Linked DNA regions of Homo sapiens: region 2 is linked to region 1. Evidence: promoter capture Hi-C in 16 types of primary human blood cells and fetal thymus (Javierre and others, 2016). All regions are on one chromosome and are shown on one strand. The core of a region is centred on a gene start or on the middle of the fragment in contact, and the rest is flanking DNA. Distances in the headings are between cores, read along the strand shown. Region 1 holds the start of TM7SF2 (transmembrane 7 superfamily member 2). Region 2 holds the start of SCYL1 (SCY1 like pseudokinase 1).

Region 1 (2,700 bases), core at 170-2,669:
CTCCTTGCAGTACCTCTTTTTACCACCAGGTGGGGCTCCTGTACGAAGAGGGTGTTCGCAAGGCCCAGAGCAGCGACTCCAGCAAGAGGACTTTCTCCGTGTACAGCAGCTCTCGGCAGCAGGGCCGCTACGCCCCCAGCTATACCCCCAGGTCTGGCTGGTCAGGGGAGCCCCAGGGGGAAGGGACAAAAGAGGGCGAGGGTGCAGGGCGGGCTCTGATTCCTTGTCTTCCCCAATCCAGTGCCCCGATGGACACCAACCTCTTGAGCAATATCCAGAAGCTATTCTCTGAACGTATTGATGTGTTCAGCCCTGTGGAGTTCAACAAGGTCCGACTTCCAACGTGACTCAGACTTCCAGGGATCCCGGGGAGGGTTGGCTGGAGCAGCCCCACACCTGCCCAAGGAGCCCCAGGACTCTGTGACCAACTGGGGGTGACCCTGACCCTCCAGTCTCTGTCTCTAGGGCTGTTTTTAGGTAGTACAGAGTGCCCTGCCTCCAAATCCCACAGCCCTTGTCCCAGTCTTGGTGTATGCCCAGCCTGAGTCTGGGTGCTGACCTGGGATTACTGTTTGCCCTTGTCCTTATCCCCACAGTAGTCTTGGGTCCTCCCCAGGGTTTTCTGTTCACCCATGGTCCCTGCCCCGCCTCACTCCAAGCTCAGGGATGCCTCTGATTGCTGGGCCCTACCTGTCCCCTGCCCTCCAGATGACGGCGCTAATATTGTATCCCTCCCTTCTTATCTGGCCCCGGAGACTTTCTGCCTCATCCCAGCTACTTCCATCGTATGTCTCCCGGGCCCCTGCTTGGAACTTGGGTGTCCCCCACACACACCTGCAGTCCCCAAGCTGCATCCCTGTGTCCCTGCCTGCAGGTGTCGGTGCTGACCGGCATCATCAAGATCAGCCTGAAGACGCTGCTGGAGTGTGTGCGGCTGCGCACCTTTGGGCGCTTCGGGCTGCAGCAGGTGCAAGTGGACTGCCACTTTCTGCAGCTCTACCTGTGGCGTTTTGTGGCCGACGAAGAACTCGTGCACTTGCTGCTGGACGAAGTGGTGGCCTCTGCTGCCCTGCGCTGCCCAGACCCTGTGCCCATGGAGCCCAGTGTGGTTGAGGTCATCTGCGAGCGCGGCTAGGCGCAGCCGCTGCCATGCACCGGTCTGTCCCTGCACCCCATGGCACCCAGGATCTGGTCTCGGTGGTCCTTCCCCGCAGGCAGGTGTCAGGACCGGCCTAATAAACATGTGTGGCCTCCTCCTCTCGCTTGCTGGGCGGGCCTTTCCGGGGGCGGGGTTTTGAAGCTGAGGCTTCTGAGGCGCCCGCGTCGGGTCCGCCCCCGAGCGCCGATTGGCTGGTGTGCTGGGCCCAGCATGGGCAGGGGGCGGTTCCACTTAAAAACCCTGGGACGAGAGCGGTCCTTGTCTGCGTTCCGTGTCCAGGCAGGTGCAGGCGCCGCGGGGCCGGATCCTCCGCGCGGCCGAGTCCATCTCCTGGGAAATGGGGCGGACAGTGTTTCCTTGACTGACTATTGTGAGCGCCCTCTCTCTCCGGCGGAGCGGAGACCATGGCCCCCACTCAGGGCCCCCGGGCCCCGCTGGAATTCGGAGGGCCCCTGGGTAATGGGGCAGAGAGATGGGACCTGGGGCAAAGGCTAAGCGAAGGAGAGCTGGAGCGGGTGAACTAAGAGCGGGGGCGAGATCTGAGGATGGAAGGCTTTGGGGGTGTCGGAGGCAGAGGGACCCGGGGGTTTGCAGCGAAGGGTGTCTGGAGAGGGAGAGCTGAGGAGGGGCCGGTTCTGGGGGCTGCAGAACGGGGATTTATGGTGTCGACTGGGAGCAGGAGGAGGGTCTTCGAGGGGCCTGGGGGCGGGGGACTAAGATGGACGCCTGGGAAGGGAACTGGGAGGCAGCGGGGTGCCTGGGGGCCGAGGGCTGAGGACGGGGTGCGGAGGCGCACTCTGGGAATGCCGAGAGGGTCCCGCAGAGACGTCAGGGCGCCCGTGCGGGCCGGCGGGGAGCTGGGGGGCTAGGGGCGGACGCCCGACGTGATGGCCCTTCCCGCAGGCGCCGCGGCTCTGCTACTGCTGCTGCCCGCCACCATGTTCCACCTGCTCCTGGCGGCCCGTTCGGGCCCCGCGCGCCTGCTGGGTCCACCCGCGTCCCTGCCGGGGCTGGAGGTGCTGTGGAGCCCACGGGCGCTGCTGCTGTGGCTCGCCTGGCTCGGCCTGCAGGCGGCGCTCTACCTACTGCCGGCGCGCAAGGTGCGGGCCCCGCTCGCGGACGCTCGGGGGAGGGAAGCGAATGGGCTCGGCGAGGGAAAGGACGCCCCGGGCCTTATCAGAGCCCCCTTGGACCCGCAGGTGGCCGAGGGGCAGGAATTGAAGGACAAGAGTCGCCTGCGCTATCCTATTAACGGTGCCTAGGGGACGGGCCCTCGCGCTGGAGTTAAGCGGCCGGGGGTGGAGCTCCAGGCCTAGCGGGGAGGTCCACGGAGATTGGCCCCCACCCCAGGCTCCTTTGTGTGCCTCTGTTACGCCCAGGACAGACGCCGGGGGCTCTCCCTATGCCCCTCGTCCCCACAGCCTTACCCCATTTACTGCTACTCCGTGCACCACAGCAGTGGCTGGGGTGATCCTCTGAAGGCCAGGGTGGCAGCCTAATGCTTGGGGCAGGGTCTGTGGCCCCCCTGAGTTTTGGGCTCT
Region 2 (2,700 bases), core at 201-2,700, 410 kb after region 1:
CTCGTATACTGAGTGTGCCGGTCCCCTGGGCCCACTGTTCTTTCTCTATACTTTGTGTCTTATTTCTTTTCTCAGTCTCTTGTCTCCACCTGACGAGAAATACCCACAGGTGTGGAGGGGCAGGCCCCCTTCAAACATGTTGGTCAGGCTGACCTGGAACTCCTGACCTCAGGTGATCCTCCAGCCTCGGCCTCCCAAAGTGCTGAGATTACAAGCGTGAACCACTGTGCCTGGCCCTCACCCCAGTTTATAGATGGGGGACCTAACGCACCCAAAGGGAACTGTGTGAGTTCTCACATCCAATGAGGGGCTGAACCGTGATTGAAACCCAGCACCGTCTCACTGTGGCATCTCTGCCCTTGAGTTATCTCCCAAAGGCATCCCAACCAGACTTTTCATAACCAGTCCCAGAATCTCACCAGTGCTCCATAGCTGTGGTTGAGGCACTGTCCCCAAGCCTGGGTCCTGAGACCCTACCAGCAGAAGAACCACTGCCTGTCCAGCCCCTCCTACACAGCTCAGGGGCTGGATCCCCACCAGTGTGATGTGCTGATTGAGCTAACACCACTCCATGGCTGTCTACACAGGCACTGAGAGATGCAATCCGTTGGCTTGAGAGCCGGGCAGCTGAGCCCAGGAGAGCAGGGTCCCCTCCCAGCCCTTTGGCCTCTTCCAGACCTGCCCAGTTGCTCCTTCTCCCTCCCTCCTTTCCTGGGGTCACTTCTTCTTCCCTCCTCAGTCTCTCCTTCCTCCATTCCCTGGGTGCCCGCCCCTGCCCCGGGGTTCTGGACCTCCTTGGAACCTTGGATTCACTCTCTGCCTCTCACCCACGCTCTTTCTCTGGGGCGTCTCCTCGTGCTTCTCTCATGGTCACTTCACCAGGACCGACTCCTCCCCGGAGCCTGGAGGCACCCACTTGCTGGTGGGAGAGAGTGTCTGGCGTGGGGCCAGTCTCCCTCTCTGGGTCTCTGCCTCACTCCTCACTGCACCCTCTCATGCCTGTCAGTCTTTCTACCTCTCCCCCTTTTTGCCTCGGTTTCCCCATCCCTCTGTCCCTTCTTAAGCTCTCATCCTTACAGTACGCTAGAAGGCAGGCTCTATTATCCTTTAGGATTTAGGCCTCTTTAGATAAAAGGGCTCACAGGCTTGGAGGGTTTTAAGTGACTTACCCGGCGGCGGAGTACTGATCTTAGTACCGCCCGCCGCCCCGGACTGCCCCGCCCCTCCCTAGCCCCCCCATCCCCGCCCCTCCCTAGCCCCCCCATCCCCGCCCCTCCCTAGCCCCCCCATCCCCGCCCCTCTCCCGCCCCTCCCTTGTCCCCGCCCCTTCCCGCCCCAACTCAGGTTCTGCCCCACCCCGCCCCAATTCACGTCCTGCTCCGCCCCGACGTAGGCCCCGCCCTGGCCCCCGGGCCCCGCCCCCGTCTGACGCAGGCCCCGCCCCCTCTCCGCCCCGCCCCGGCTCGGGCGGCCGGAGGACCCGGAGCTAAGGCGCCCGAACCCGCGGCGGCGGTGGGGACGATGTGGTTCTTTGCCCGGGACCCGGTCCGGGACTTTCCGTTCGAGCTCATCCCGGAGCCCCCAGAGGGCGGCCTGCCCGGGCCCTGGGCCCTGCACCGCGGCCGCAAGAAGGTGAGTGCGGCCGAGCTCCGTAGGCCGCGGTCGACCTGGGCCTTGCCTATTCCGCGCCGCCGACCCCGTCGCGTTGCGCCCGGCCTGACGTGGCGGCGGAACCAAGGGGTAGCAGGCCGGGGAGGGGGCGGGCAGTGCCTACGTGGCGGGCGGAGGGACCGAGGGACCGACAGGCGGACAGGGCCGGGGTCACGTGGGCCCGGCGAAGTGTCCCTAAGGCTGACCTGGGGAGAGACCTGGCTGCGGGCCCTTGTCTTCCGGCCACACAACAGCTCTGGGACCATCTCAGGCCCCGCTGCCCTCCCCTAGGCCACAGGCAGCCCCGTGTCCATCTTCGTCTATGATGTGAAGCCTGGCGCGGAAGAGCAGACCCAGGTGGCCAAAGCTGCCTTCAAGCGCTTCAAAACTCTACGGCACCCCAACATCCTGGCTTACATCGATGGACTGGAGGTACCTGCTGCCTTGCCTGCCCGTCTCTGCCCCTCACGATGTCCTGGTTACCCACTCCTGTCTCCCCTCCTGCCCTGTTTCCACCCTATGTGCCCCAGCACCCCCAGATTTGGTTTCCTCTTCCCCATCTCTCCCAACTTCAAGTCGCTTATCTCTCCTTCCTCTCTGCCCCTCCGCCCTTGATAACCCTGTGTCCCCTTCCCCAGACAGAAAAATGCCTCCACGTCGTGACAGAGGCTGTGACCCCGTTGGGAATATACCTCAAGGCGAGAGTGGAGGCTGGTGGCCTGAAGGAGCTGGAGATCTCCTGGGGGCTACACCAGATCGTGGTGAGGTGGGGGGCAGTGGTGATGAGAGCAGGGATGGGGGGTTGCAGGTGCTGGGGCGTGATGGCTCCTTTTGCCCCCAGAAAGCCCTCAGCTTCCTGGTCAACGACTGCAGCCTCATCCACAACAATGTCTGCATGGCCGCCGTGTTCGTGGACCGAGCTGGCGAGTGGAAGCTTGGGGGCCTGGACTACATGTATTCGGCCCAGGGCAACGGTGGGGGACCTCCCCGCAAGGGGATCCCCGAGCTTGAGCAGTATGACCCCCCGGAGTTGGCTGACAGCAGTGGCAG

The links. The method cuts DNA at HindIII sites, captures the fragments that hold promoters and counts their contacts. A CHiCAGO score of 5 or more calls a contact.
Region 2: a contact is called between the fragment with the promoter of SCYL1 here and the fragment with the promoter of TM7SF2 in region 1, in 1 of 17 cell types (naive B cells). The highest score is 5.3, in naive B cells.

The regions. Positions count from the first base shown.
Region 1 is chr11:65,110,453-65,113,152 of GRCh38, forward strand. It overlaps TM7SF2 (transmembrane 7 superfamily member 2), which reads left to right and starts at 1,420. Exons shown (of 10, transcript NM_003273.6): 1 at 1,420-1,615; 2 at 2,063-2,259; 3 at 2,359-2,413. The coding sequence starts at 1,564. VPS51 (VPS51 subunit of GARP complex) reads left to right here. Exons shown (of 10, transcript NM_013265.4): 8 at 30-151; 9 at 242-329; 10 at 875-1,410. The coding sequence ends at 1,135. RefSeq lists enhancers at 1-602, 603-1,528, 1,225-1,519, 1,442-1,551, 1,622-1,671 and silencers at 361-536, 1,802-2,231. The HindIII fragment of the contact is 11,666 bases long and covers 1-2,700 here.
Region 2 is chr11:65,523,633-65,526,332 of GRCh38, forward strand. It overlaps SCYL1 (SCY1 like pseudokinase 1), which reads left to right and starts at 1,451. Exons shown (of 18, transcript NM_020680.4): 1 at 1,451-1,632; 2 at 1,942-2,082; 3 at 2,289-2,411; 4 at 2,492-2,700. The coding sequence starts at 1,522. RefSeq lists a silencer at 1,299-1,798. The HindIII fragment of the contact is 5,249 bases long and covers 1-2,582 here.